5 separate regions of the Homo sapiens genome follow, and regions 1, 2, 4 and 5 are each linked to region 3. Evidence: promoter capture Hi-C in 16 types of primary human blood cells and fetal thymus (Javierre and others, 2016). All regions are on one chromosome and are shown on one strand. The core of a region is centred on a gene start or on the middle of the fragment in contact, and the rest is flanking DNA. Distances in the headings are between cores, read along the strand shown.

The links. The method cuts DNA at HindIII sites, captures the fragments that hold promoters and counts their contacts. A CHiCAGO score of 5 or more calls a contact.
Region 1: the fragment with the promoter of NAP1L5 here is called in contact with the fragment with the promoter of TIGD2 in region 3 in 1 of 17 cell types (megakaryocytes); the score reaches 5.8 in megakaryocytes.
Region 2: a fragment that was not itself captured here is called in contact with the fragment with the promoter of TIGD2 in region 3 in 1 of 17 cell types (naive B cells); the score reaches 5.2 in naive B cells.
Region 4: a fragment that was not itself captured here is called in contact with the fragment with the promoter of TIGD2 in region 3 in 2 of 17 cell types (megakaryocytes and naive CD4 T cells); the score reaches 6.1 in megakaryocytes.
Region 5: a fragment that was not itself captured here is called in contact with the fragment with the promoter of TIGD2 in region 3 in 1 of 17 cell types (fetal thymus); the score reaches 5.4 in fetal thymus.

What each region holds. Positions count from the first base shown.
Region 1 is chr4:88,696,286-88,699,150 of GRCh38, forward strand. NAP1L5 (nucleosome assembly protein 1 like 5) reads right to left here and starts at 1,544. Exons shown (of 1, transcript NM_153757.4): 1 at 1-1,544. The coding sequence starts at 1,469. The coding sequence ends at 921. The region is part of intron 23 of HERC3 (HECT and RLD domain containing E3 ubiquitin protein ligase 3); the gene reads left to right. RefSeq lists an enhancer at 1,634-1,693. The HindIII fragment of the contact is 2,584 bases long and covers 1-2,263 here.
Region 2 is chr4:88,610,637-88,613,375 of GRCh38, forward strand. The region is part of intron 3 of HERC3 (HECT and RLD domain containing E3 ubiquitin protein ligase 3); the gene reads left to right. Among named protein-coding and RNA genes, the nearest start is that of HERC3, 20 kb to the left of the region's middle. The HindIII fragment of the contact is 1,698 bases long and covers 499-2,196 here.
Region 3 is chr4:89,110,173-89,112,872 of GRCh38, forward strand. It overlaps TIGD2 (tigger transposable element derived 2), which reads left to right and starts at 1,361. Exons shown (of 2, transcript NM_145715.3): 1 at 1,361-1,711; 2 at 1,895-2,700. RefSeq lists enhancers at 869-978, 1,009-1,088 and a silencer at 1,169-1,618. The HindIII fragment of the contact is 10,355 bases long and covers 1-2,700 here.
Region 4 is chr4:88,807,090-88,809,789 of GRCh38, forward strand. The region is part of intron 7 of FAM13A (family with sequence similarity 13 member A); the gene reads right to left. Among named protein-coding and RNA genes, the nearest start is that of FAM13A-AS1, 99 kb to the left of the region's middle. The HindIII fragment of the contact is 640 bases long and covers 1,020-1,659 here.
Region 5 is chr4:88,826,195-88,828,921 of GRCh38, forward strand. The region is part of intron 7 of FAM13A (family with sequence similarity 13 member A); the gene reads right to left. Among named protein-coding and RNA genes, the nearest start is that of FAM13A-AS1, 120 kb to the left of the region's middle. The HindIII fragment of the contact is 5,356 bases long and covers 1-2,727 here.

The DNA.
Region 1 (2,865 bases), core at 294-2,793, 410 kb before region 3:
GCTACACCCTAAAAGCTACATGACAGAAAGACGTCACAAGGCGCAAAGTACATAACGCTGGATACACATGCTTTACATAATTTGCTACATTCTACATCTCTTCAAGTAAATTAATATTTCTAAAACGCTAGGTAAAGTGATTTAATACTTAAACATATTTGGGGTATTTTTTACGTGTTTGTAAATAGACAGTACTAAGAAAACACAAACATGAGATTGTAACTAATGAATACATATGTTGACAGTATTTTACAGGTTTTACACCCTCCTTCTTGGAACCATGTTGTTTCTCTAAATTCAAATACTCAAAACATTTTTCAGAACTTGAAATGGCAGTTTTCCTGGCCTTATTAACAGTAGTGTCATGATCTCCATTGCAATCTTCCTCAATGCCATCAATCTCCTGTGAAGTGTAAAGCTGATGTCTGCGTTACAAAAGCAAAGTCTCAAAGATGACGTTTTTCTTGGGTTCTGCCTTCTCTGCACTGCGAAATGTCATGAGTAAAGAAATTTAAGAATTAAGCACTGAGAACGTGTTCAGTCATGGCTTGGGTGTTCCATGTGTAGCGTATGCTGTGTGATGAATGGGTTTCAAAGTGACGTTCTTTACTTCGCATCTGCTAACACCCTTTGTAAACCTCAATCCTCAGAGAAGAGACCATGAAAACATAATTTTGGGTTTAATTCAGTTTTCTTTAACACCTTTTGATATATTTATTATGTTCAAAATGAAAGTCAAATTTGAATCGAGCTGGCCAGGATCTAATTGCTTTAATTTAATCTATTTTAGGAATGTCAGAATAAATTCACATTGTATTTTGGTCAAAAACCTGAGCCTTTTTAAGTCCATCGATATTCTGGGAAAAACAAAACCAGGCTTTTTTCTTCGTGGGCTTTCTCTTCATCCATCTCTGCCCCCCTTACTTCTTGGCGTCATCAGGCATCTCGGCGTGGGCATCGTCATGTTTGGCCCCCGCGGCAGCCTCTGCCGCAGCCTCCTCCTCCTCCTCGTCTTCCCCCTCCTCCTCGTCATCCTCGTACTCCTCTTCCTCCTCCTCCTCCCCCTCCAAGGTCCATGCACACCCCTCCATCTCGCCGGTGAGCTCTTGGATCTTGGCGAGTAGGGGCTTATAGATGTCATTATACTTTTTTTCCAGAGCCTGAAATTCCTTATCAAATTTGGCTTCTATCTTATCGCATCGCTTCTGCAGCTTTTTGAGGGCCAGGACTCGGCATTTCACCGAATTAGGCAGGCTCTCGATAAAGTCATTTTTCGGCTTTGGGGCATTCTCTGCAGGGGTCTGGGGCTCCTCAGCCATCTGACCAGCCGCGCTGTCAGGGTCACCAGCCGCGCTGTCACAGTCTCCACCCTGCGCACCGCCTTCCGCCATTACCTCCTCTGCCGCTGCCTCCGCCGCTGCCGCCGCCTGGCTAGGCTCCGCAGGCCCCTGGTTTTCCGAGTCGGCCATGTTAGAGGAGAAGCCGCAGAGGTCTAGGAGGGCTCCCGCAGAGGCCCTGCACCCGAGCTGGTCCAGAGAGATCTTGCGGATGCGGCAAGTGGCGGTGACGTGCGGCCGCGGGAATGACGTTGGCCGCGGCCCCGCCTCCTGCTTTCGCGGCACTTGACTGGCTTCCCACTATCAGCTGACGGCCGTGTGCTCATACTGCACCAGATTCCTCCTGTTGCTACCCTGACATCTTCTGGGCCCTCAACACCCGCCTGTTGGACAGACACCCTGTTCCCAGCCCACCCATGTACCCACCCCTGTAGAGCTGGGCTGGGAGTGTCAGTAGCTGCCCGAGGTGCTTCTTCAGGAACTGCATAGATGGCCTCAGACCATTTTCCGTGTGCTCCTCACCCCCATCCAGGCCCTTCTACAAATGCCAGTGCATATGTCTTCGCTTTCCTCTGCATCTCTCTCCATAGCTGGCGTTTGATCACCTCTTAGATTCCTCCGCATTCCTCTCCATGCAGTGGAGGAACGGGCAAGCTGGCTCCATTCCACCCCTTTGGGGACCTGGGGTGCATGTGTGTGGATAGGGCAGCTTGCATATCCAAGCTCTGTACCTATGTGTCCACCCAACACCCCCTTGGCCATCCCACACACCTAGCGGCATATATCTTGGTGGCAAGGTCGTCTCTCAGCAGGACTCCCCTGGAAGCAGTTTTGGAGCCATTTGGGTAGGAAATCTCAGAGCTCCCGGTGTCCTGGTGTGTGTTCTAGAAGATCCTACAGAATCTTTGGCCTGTGGGAAGGACTAAAGCTTGAGGAGGGCTGAAAAAAAGCAAGTCTTTCTAAAGCATGGGGCCCAGGGCCAAGGCCCCCTCTTATCTTGGTTAAAGCATGTGCCATCTATCCCACCCCGCTCACATTCGTCTTCCCTGCCTTCCCCCAACACCGTCTGCTTCCCTGCCTTCCCCACTATCTGTTTTCACACCTTTCCACACCACATCTTCTCCCTCCCTCCTGCCCCTCCCCCGCACTGACTTATGCCCCACCTTCTGCCCATCTTCTTCCCCGCCTTCTTCCCCACTCACTGCCTCCTTCCTCACCTTCCCCCCGCCGCACTGTCCTTTTCCCCACCTTCCTCACCCTCTTCTTCCCCACCCTCCTTACCCTCTTCTTCCCCACCTTCCTCACCCTCCTCACCCCCTTCTTCCTCACCCACTGCCTTCTTCCTCACCTTCCCCCCACCGAACTTTTTCCTCACGCTCCTCACCCTCTTCTTCCTCACCCTCTTCACCCTCTTCTTCCTCACGCTCCTCACCCTCTTCTTCCTCACCCTCTTCACCCTCTTCTTCCTCACGCTCCTCACCCTCTTCTTCCTCACCCTCTTCACCCTCTTCTTCCTCACGCTCCTCAC
Region 2 (2,739 bases), core at 98-2,597, 500 kb before region 3:
ATCAGGCAGCCTCACTGCAGAGTCAGTTGCTCAGATATGCCTCAGTGCACACCTTGGTCTTGGAACTTGGGGGAGAGGATTCACCCTGGGGTAGCAGCTGGGAAAGGAAGCAAAAACCTCGCAGAACAATGATAGCAAAGATCTGTAGAAGGCATCATAATGAATACATCTGAGTGCAACGAGACATTTCTCTAGCACAGCCTCCTGATGCAGCTCCAAGGAGCTAATGGTAGGTGTTGCTGGGCCTCTGGATGTGAGTGAGCTCTGGCAAAGCAGCCGCACTGCGTCTGTCTGCATACTGGGTCAGCTGGCCCTCAGTCATCCTGCAGACGCCCTCCCCACAGGGCTGAGTGACTGCAAGAATCCCAAGCTAGAGGTGTGCCAAGAAGGCTTTGGGATTCAGCCTCGGAATCCAGCCCATGCTTGTGATCTAAATTTGGAATAAGGCAGGCTGTAGTGTAAATTACAAGAGATTCCAGAAATTTCTGTTGTTGGTTAAGCTTGTCTGTTAATTATAAACTCCATAGCAGCTTGGAATAATGCCTCTTTGAATGGAAAGATTATGTGGGTGGGTGCCTCCCTCTCTCCATTTAACTTTTTCGTTGGTAGGTGTGTTCTAAATCTGGATATGATTTGCGTTTGTTTTTAATGAGTGGGAAGAAGAGAATGAACTTGTTTTCTGTGTTTGCTTATTGAGAACCATGACCTGGAGAGCTGCTAGACATGGAAGGGAAGTCTGTGGCAGGCCTAGTTTGTTACAGGTATCTGTTGGTCTTGGCCCACAGGAATGCTACCCCCAAGTAGCTTCTGTGGTATTTGGGAAGGGAACATGATGGAAGGCCCCTTCCTTAAAAGAGGATTTTTCTGGGGGTTATGGGCAGGTCTGTGATTTCAGCTTGGTATCATTGCCCAGATTGGTTGACTTTGAAATATGAAGGATTTTAAAAAGTGAGTGTATGACTGTTCCTCTAAGGCTTTGAGAGTGTGAAGAAGTGAGTTGAAGGAGTTAATTCCATGGTGGCCAACTCCAAGTGGCTTACAGAGTTTTGAACCCAAGTGGCAAACTTAAGTTTCTTTTTCTTGCTTTGCAGTACTGGCTGTGAATGGAGTAATGCCTGACCATCAACACTTACTTTGCTGATTGGACTTGTTAATATTTCTAGTCCTAGCAGGGTGTCCACCAGCATGGGTATGGTCATCTAGCACTAGTCTGGAGGAGAATTTATTTCATTGCCTTGAAACTTTGTTTCCTGTTAAAATGCAAACAACCCTGGGAGCCACATAATCTGACCTTCCTGAGGGGAAGGAAAGTTGAAAGAAGGTACTGGTGTAGGAGATGCACCTGGACAAGTCTTCTAATGTGTGCCTTGATTCTGTCCTGCTAGTCATCATATACCATGTTATACACTCTGTCTCTAACTGGTTCAGCTGCAAGGCACATCAATTCATTTTTTTGGGATGCATTCTGTAGATGTGCCAGAGCAGTGATATAAAGCACCTCTCAGTGATTCTAAGGGTTTTGGAGATCCTTTTTTTCCTTCTTAAGAATATGTAACAGTTAACTATTGCTGTTGCTGACCCTGAGACTACTGTGGTTTCTTTGTACTCTCATTTCTGTACTTCTCACATTAGCAATACCCTTATGTGACCAACTGTGTGTGTGTGTGTGTGTGTGTGTGTGTGTGTGTGTGGTAAGAAGGAGGCATTTCAAAGATACATCAAATTCTGAAACTCCTGGTTATTCAGGCCCCAGATATTTTCCCAGTGTGTCAGGCAGCACACAGAGTTCTAGCTTAGGTGTGTCCATGACTCATTTGTGATTTGGCCAAGGGCATAGAGGCCTGTGATTCCCAGAAGCATTTTTCAGATGTAGTATATTAAGCCCCATCTAAACTCAATTTCCAGCTTTAAAAAAAAGTATTGGATTATAAGTCTTTTGCACATTCCTCTCTCACATGACTTTTCTCTCCTTCATTCTCACCTTTGCATTCAGACATATACCTCATCCCTCCCCGACAAAGCAGACAGAGTTTTTGTGATTGGAGTCATCATAGGGTTATTACTAATTTCCTTATGGTTTTTGTCCATGAATTTATTTTATAATTTTCTAAGACATAAAGTTACAGAGCTGGCATTTTAGGAAGTCTTGTGTGCCTTCCCCACTTTTTTTTTAATAAAGCAAGCAAACAAAACATAAGCTTTTTTTTCCTGAATGTTATTTTTTATAAGTGACTAAGTGGACATTAAGTAAATCTTGAGCTCTTTTATTAAACTAGAGACTGGTTGTCCATAGAAAGGATTCAATAAATACCTTAATTTACCATGCCTCTCATATTCCTACCTAGCCACATTGTAAACAGTACTCTTCAGCTAAATGAATAGTTCTCCTTTCCTCATACATACTCTGATTTCTAATATTGGGATTTTAGGGTAAGCTAATCTCTGTGTTATTAGGGATATCTGAACTTACATAAGTGTCTTCTAATCTTTCTCCCTATCTTGAATAGACAAGAACCGTGGTAGGGGCAGTTATTTAGTGTAATCTAATTTGACTCTGCTAAATTTTAAAATTCTCTGTAGACATACCAGGAAATCTTCTTATAGCAGAGCCCAAGGGTAACAATTTATAAGCAAGCTCTAACATTTCTGTGCAACTCTATTTGATTCATCTCTGTGATTGGTTCCTTTTACTTTCTCCTGAGTTAGTTTCCCTCTTGCAGGTAATTTAATCCAATTCAC
Region 3 (2,700 bases), core at 111-2,610:
AGTTATAATGTACCCAAAACAGGCAACCAGGACTTCCAGAAAGGGACTGGCTTGTTGGAAGCCAAATGGAAGGCAGGGAAGAGGGGAGGTCTAAAAGCAGGTATTCTCCAAAAGCCACTTACAACCTCACAACATAACTAGATCAAAGAATTTCTGTCATGCCAGATAGTGGAAGGCTGCTATGTTGAGAAAGGCAATTGAGCAGTTTTGGCGGCGGAGTCAAACAGAAGGCTTAGAATCAACATCTGTTTTCTACAGTATGCTCGCTTTGATTTCCATCTCCAAGTTTCTGAAATTCCAGAAACAGTATATGGCCTTGTCAAAGAAATGACGAATTACTATGTTACTTTGTGTTAACGAAAAGGTTACATTTATGTTCATATGGAAGAGATAATTCACTGAAGAATTTCCAATTTTTCAAACTGACACGCACACACAAGACGGAAAGGAAGGCAGCCTGACCGCGTTTCCCAGGAAACAGGTGGTGCAAGGTGGAGGTGCACCACTCTCTCCTCCAGGAAGGCGGTGACCCTTCCGCAGATGTCTCCGTTGGAAACAAATAAAGGGAGTATCAGTCAAAGCGCAATTCCCCGATTCCACTTGAGAAGCCCCGGGCGTCGAGGCACGGCAGGAAATTTACCACGACGCCTCCCACTGGCTCAAGGGTCTCCCAGGTGCTGTCGATTTTGCAAAGGGTCCGTCTCTACAGCGACTGTGACGAGTTTCGGAGCATCAGCACCGGGGAGCGCTGACCCGACACTCGGCTCTACCGCAGCCCGCCGCGCCTCGGCACCCTGGGCTTGTCCGGCTGGGTGTTGCCGAGCGAACGCCCCAGCTCCTGCCCGGAACCCACGTCCGCCGGCTCCTACCGTGCCTCATGATCCTCGCTCGGGCTAGCACTTTCCACGCGCGCTGACTCTGGGCTCCGACACCTGGACCGCCTCCGCAAGGCGGCGCGGCTGCTGTTTGTAAACACGCCCCACGTGCGCTCGCCCTGCCCCATTCGCAGCCCGCTCCCGGCACGCGAGGATCCTCCGCTTTCCCCCCAGCACTGGGGGGGTGAGATTTTAAAATTTCCCCCTAGGGAGAAAAGAGCCTCGTCGGCAGAGCCGGGCCACTGGGAAAAGCGCCAGGACAAGGCGAGCGTGTGCCTCCCCCTGCCGGCCAGGGAGGCACTGCGGCCCCGAAACGGCCAGGCGGTGAGTGGAACCCACGCAGCGCCTAGAGACGCACCCCTGCCGGGCCCCCGCCCCTCCCGCCCGCTCGCCGGAGTCCCCTCCCCCGGGCCGCGTGCGCTCACCCGCGCAGGCCCCGCCCCCTCGCCGGCACAACGTTCTGCGGGGGCGCGCGCGTGCTCTCTAATCCCCCGCCTTCCGGCTCCGGCGGCGACGCTCGTCCCTCTCCGCTCGTCCCTCGCCGCTGCCGGGCCACCAGTGCCAGCCTGCCTCAGGAGACTCCATTTGCGCTTAGTGTGGTCTGGGCGCCGCGCAGGCGGTCCCAGGGCGATGCCCGGGGCCGGCGGACTGGCGTTCCCTGTGCCAAGCGGCCGCCCGCTGGCTGGCTGGCTGCAGCAGTGACATCCTGGTCGCCGGCGTCCAGGCGGAATCCGGGCTCCCTCCGCGGGAGGAAAGACGTCCCGCGCTCTGAAGCTCGCCCAGCGGGGAGAGGCCCTCGCTAACACGGCTTCTCCCTGACCTCTTAATTTCAGGAGGTAGGCTCTTCAGGTCCCTCTCTCTGTCACCCCAGATTATGCCTGAAAGCATTATTTGTCGTATTTAGCTATCACATTGATAGGAGGCGTTAATTTTCTCAACATAGTTGCAGGATAAATGTGGATAATGCCACAGATCCTGATGTTGAATTGAAAGAAAATGTTTTTGGTATTTTCCTTTAGGTTTCGGAGCCTCCGAGTATCTCTACAGCCCCCACAGGAACTGCTTCTGTTGGTCCATCGAGGATCGTCTTTCACCAGGATTATTGTAACATCATCTTCACCGAGCCTGCCACCCCATAGCCTCTACCTTGGGTCCTCATTTCCACCGATGCAGTTTTTTTGATGCTTTCTTTAGTAATGTGACATCACATGTCCACTATCCTCCTTTCCAGCTGCCAAATCTAGTAGGTTTAAGTCGCTTTTAAAGTAGAGTTTTCTGCCTGTTCCACTTTCACCTTATTTGCACTGTTCACTTCTGTCCGGGTCATCTTCTCTTGCGTATGATTTCCACAAGCACTCACTTGCGCAACCTATAGCAGAGTCCGTGCCTAGAGAGACAGCATTCCATACAATCCACTGCTTGACAAAGACCACATAGTCAGAGGGTGAGTTTTCCCATTGTATTTTCCTGTATGTCAAGTTTGCAAGTCCTCTCTTGACTTAAACTGTTTACTCCCTAGCACATTTCCTAAAATACTTCCACCTGAGATTTAGTGGCTATTCTGGCAAAGAACATTACCTGCAAGGATGGCAAGAATTGAGTATGCAATAGTACTGTTTTAGAAGCCTTACCAGTACAGTTTCTAGCCTCTAGTGTGATTGCACTTCATGAAAGACCCTGAACCCTGAGGAGGAAGAAAGATAGAAGATAAGAGTTAATTGGCGCTAGGCTTTGTTGTAGGAAGTTTGTAAGTTTTAAAATAGCAAGTAGATTCACGTAGACCTTGTCAGGAAATTGGTCACTATCCATCTAGGCCCTAGAAGTG
Region 4 (2,700 bases), core at 90-2,589, 300 kb before region 3:
CAGATCCTTTACTCTAACATGTAGCAAACTGAAGGAAAATTAACATGGTTACTGTAACATTCTTTGATGTGCATTCAATTAGCAATATGCTTGATTTTCTTAAGTGCTTTTGAGAGATGATTTAAATGGTTCAGGGCTCTGAACACAGCTGTTTATGTGTCTTAGCTATTTGTGTGTGTCTGTGTGCTAAATTTCTCTGCAGCAAACAGAAGCAATACTTTTTTCCTTTCATCTCCCTCACAAATTTCATATCAATTATGACTGCGGGCCAGATCCTACCACAGGTCCTACATTAATTATCTCAATTAGATACTCACAAAACTTCCCTGGTTCTGGCTTCTTGCTCCTTAATTCTGGTGAGAAAAGCAGTCTCAGAGTGAGTACATAACTCATTCAGATGATGCAGCTAGTGATGTGTAAATTACTGTATTACATGTTAGTTCATTTTTCTTACTTATTGTTTTCCCTTGATTTTTAACTTACTAAAGTACAGCGAGATGACTAGGTTAGTGAAGAAAATGCATTCGATGGCCAGTCTGCATTCCAGCAGCCACAACAAGATCTCGTGGACTTGATAAGCTCCTTGTCATGCTTCTGATTATGGCAACTCTACATCACCTTAGTCAAAGTCCATCCATAATGCATTATGCCTGACAGCACTTATAAGGTGATTAATTTATTAAAATATACTGGCACGATGTCAAGAATGTCTCTTGATAGAAACACAAGATTTTAATCATAAGCAAATATTTTATCTGGCCTGCATTTGCACAAAGTAAATTCATCAATGAAAGACAAAATAAGAAATTCTTAATTTGGCTATGCCCCTGAATTTTGACCAGTTTTTGTTCTAAAAAAGAAAATGTAAGCACTGAAATTTAAGTAAAATAAAGCAGAGTCAGTATTACATTTAGTCAACAATCAGCAGTTAACAGTGGAGCAATCCATGCACAGTCCCTGAGAAAAACAATATAATTTGGAAAGAAAATGAGGGTAAATAAATCAATTTTTATTTTAAAAGCTTATTTCTATTTTCCCTTTCATAAAAGTACCCTTTTCTGGGATTTAGTAATACAATCTAAACAAAGGCATAAATTTTGAGACAACTAAATCATTGATTTCAAATTGATTAAGCCAACTAATTTTAGAAATAAATTTAATGCATTGACTTCGAAGGTAATTTTAAGGAAAAATGGCCACGGACAATTCTTCCAAATAAAATCAACAAAATAAACTTTTCCACAAAATGCACAAACCAGAATGCACATTTGAAAAAATTACCATTTTTATACAGCTGTACAAAGATATTGTACTATTACTACAGGCTCCAAAACATCTTTAACAAAGATCATTTACACCTATTTCTGTTTTCGTGTCAATCTGTCATGTTCAATGATACTAAAGGATTTTGCCTAAACTCTAACTTGAGCATAATTTGTCATAATTTTTTCCTAAAGATGAAATTGAGAATTAATTCTGATTCACTTTTAATTTTTAAAAATAAGCACATGTTCTGTGAATGAAGAAGGAAGTGTGTGTCATGAAATTAAACCAATGACAAATTGAAACAACTTAGAATTCATTCGATTTCCTCCTTGGTTACCAGTAAAAACTCCGTGTTTTAATTATTTCCTATTTGCTGACTCTCAATAATGACCAAGCTTAAGCAGCCAATTATAAGTAGTTTACTTAAAAAAAAAAATCAAACATACATTGAGAGATTTGGGCAATCACCTCATTTATGTGATTATGCTTAATGTTCTCAGATACATGGTACTATATTCTCAAAATAACTGCTTGTAGGAAGAACATTTATCATATAGACCTAAATAACAGTCTAAATCTAAGAAGCTACAACTAAGAATGCCAATAACTTAGATATTTTTATCTACGTTTTAGCAGAGTCCTGTCTAACTTATTTTTTATACAGCTTGACATTGGTTAATGCACATAAATAAATGACACCTAGACTGATAATCTCTTCATGAGTTACCCTAATTTCTAAACTGAAGCCACAGAATGCAGTGCAATGCCTATCAGTTTAATTATACAGCAAGCTAAAGGAAATCATGAAAGGCATAGTGTTGTATATGTCTAAGAAAAACCAAATAATGTTGGGAGAATTCCCAGGGCAAGTACCCAGAATGGATCTTCAATTACTCGATCAAACCACCATTCCATTCCATTCCCTTTTTAACTCTCCAATTACTTCAACTTTCTAATTGGTTAATGTGGCTGGCTACCAGAAAATTAACATAATTTGCATATTTAGCCACACACTTTAAATATATTTCTAAGTGGTTTGAGACAGAAGAAATAGTTTGTAAGTGTTCCTTGAATACTGAAAAGTACAGAAAAACAAGTAAATGCTAAGAATTCGGTCCCATTCATTGAAGAAACTAGAAAAACCATCCATGAGGCTTAAAAAACAAAACAAGGAGCAAAAGAGAAAGTGAGGGACAAGTATAAAGAAACAAAAGAAAAGTATAAAGTAAACATTTTTTCAGGAACTCAGGCATTTTCCACATGTGCTACAAATGTAAGGGGAGGAATTTTCTTAGAGAATGATAAGTGAAGTTAGCACATTTTCCTTTCCTTCCTTGTTCTCAAAACATAAAGTGCAACACATGTACTTGAGCATTTTCAATTTATCCACAGTCTCAGTCGTTAACCATGCCCCTTGCCAACTGGGGAGGTACG
Region 5 (2,727 bases), core at 225-2,724, 280 kb before region 3:
CCACTACTTCTCCCTCTCCCATTCCTCTGCCTTTTCACTTAGCTCTCTGTTCAACTCCAACTGTTTTGTGATGTCCACAGAGGATAGCCTGCAATCATACCAACTGGCACGTAGGATTAAAAAAAAAAAAAAAAAAACCATTCCTGACCCTCCTGAGCATTTAGTTATTTCTAAAATGGGTTCCCTAGCATCTTCCACTTCTTCCCCCTTTATAAGTCCTGCCATCTGGGCTGTCTATTGCCAGAGTGCTAACGATTGCAAAAGAAAATCTCATAACTTGGTAACTAGTTATACTAAAAATTCGTAATACTTAAACTTAGTTTGAACCACAATACTGTGTTACAACCTTTTTTATTATCTTTGACTGTTCACTGCATTCCCGCTTCAAATCTTCTCCAGTGCCACAAAACAGAACCTCTCTCACTCACTAATTATTTCACCTGCCAATTGACTGAGAAAATCAAGATCATCAAATATAAGCGAGTGCCTTTGGTCTTCTCTGCTCCACCTACCACTCCTGTTCCCACTCCAGCACACATCTTGCCTCACTCTTTATGACGTCCTCTTGGTTTAGGAGAAAGGGTCCTCACATATAGGTCTCAAGCCTCTTATCTGTGTATTGGATCTCATCATTTTCTCCTTCCTCTGGAAGAAGCCTGGTCTCTCCTACATCTTGAATCTGCCCCTCGCTACTTGCTTCTCCTCCCTTCTGACAGGCAACCAAGTGAGTGTCCCTCAGTATTAGAAAGTGCTTCTCAGCAGTCCTACCCTCTGGTGCTGCAGAGCTATTTCCCTCTTCCTTCCCCACTTACAGACTTCCCCCAAATCTATCTCTGCTGCCTCCACTTCCTCATAAATTACTTATTCCTCCATCCCATGCCAATGGACTTCGACCTTTACCACTTTTCCAAAACTGCTTTTAGGGTCTTTTGACCACTAAATCCAAATGCCTTTTCTTAGATCCTCTCCTACTCTTGACTTTTCTGAAACACTCACCTTCAGTTTTCTGAAAGTCTTTGGTTCTCTGTGATCTTTCTTGGGAATTCACCAAACCTTCTTGATCAACATTCGCCTTTGATTTCATCTGTCTTTCCTCCTCGTTTAGCCCTGCCTCCAAGCCCAACACCATTCAATACACGCATTCAATAAATTGGGCGCTGCAATTACACCTCTGGGGGCTGGATCCTGACTTCACCCCTGACAGGCAGTGCAAACTTGGGCAGGTTGTTTAAAAGCTCTGAGGCTGCTCTGAGGAATAAATGAGGCCATGCATGTAAAATATATAGAATAGTGCCTGGCAAATAGTTAAGTGCTCAATAATTATTAGTATTATCAACCCAATCAAACATTCAAGACTTCATATTATCTGATCTCCAAATTTCTCTTCCTCCTGGCCCTTCTTGATAATGATGTAATTATTCCCTTTGTGAATCAGATTTAAACCATGAGTCATCTTTACTCCTCCCTCTCCTCTCCTACCCTCAACCAAATCTATTGATTGACCTGTCATGTTTCTTTAATCAATCTGCCTAGGTTATCTGTACTCTTAGGATAACGTTCAAAATATTCTTTCTGCCACCATAGCACACATTCCACTATTAGTCAACATCCTACCATGCTTGCGATTTGGTAACTCATTTTTGTACTCAAAAACTTCAATAGCTCCCAACTACCTCTTACATGAACCCCAATCCTTTTAATGTGATGATTAGAACATTCCACCTATTAACCCCAATTTGCCTCTCCAGTTCAGTTGCTTAAACCTCCCCTGAGGAAACAACTCCAGATATGCCTGGGTCACTATTTTCAAATCTGCCCTGAACTTTTCTATCCTAAATATTTGCTCATGCTGTTCCCTCTGTCTGGAATATTTTCCCATTTCATTCCCTTCAGGAAAAATCCTACCTATACTTTAGGTCTAGGCTAATTGAAAGAAATGTTTTTTTGTTTGTTTGTTTTTGAGACAGGGTCTCTCTCTGTTGTCCAGGCTGGAGTGTAATGGCAGGCACCATCACAACTCACTGCAGCCTTTACCTCCTGGGCTCAAGTGTGCCTCCCACCTCAGCCTCCTGAGTAGCTGAGACCACAGGCGCATGCTAAAATGCCTGGATAATTTATTTTTTGTAGAGATGAGGTTCTTACTATGTTGCCCAGGCTGGTCTTGAACTCCTGGGCTCAAGCAGTCTTCTCACCTTGGCCTCTCAAAGTGTTGGGATTACAGATGTGAGCCACTATGTTTGGCCAAAGAAATCTCTTGACCTTTTAAAGTCATACAGCCCTTTGTATCGATGATGATTTTTATCTTTTTTTCCTGTACAGTTTTATTATTATTTGAATCTGCTGTATATATTATCTTCCTTTTGGAATGAAAATTTTCCACAACAGGAACTGTATCTTTCCTGCAGCCCTGACACAGAACACTCAATAAGTGCAGAATGAATTAATGGATACATCAATTACTCTTCTATAGATTCTGAAGTATAGCTCCTTTTATTAGATTTAAACTTATCAAGCAATATTCTACCCACTTTTTAACACTTTCTACTGTAGGGCTACACATAAGATAAACTGGATGCCACATGTAGGTTCAAATGAAAAATAATACTAACAAATAACTGGCTTAAGGAATAAACTACCTGGGTTATATATTGATGTGCAATCACAGATGTGCTAAAAGTAAGATTCTATCCAAAACTTCTGAAATCTTTTAAGCATTCTACATTATCC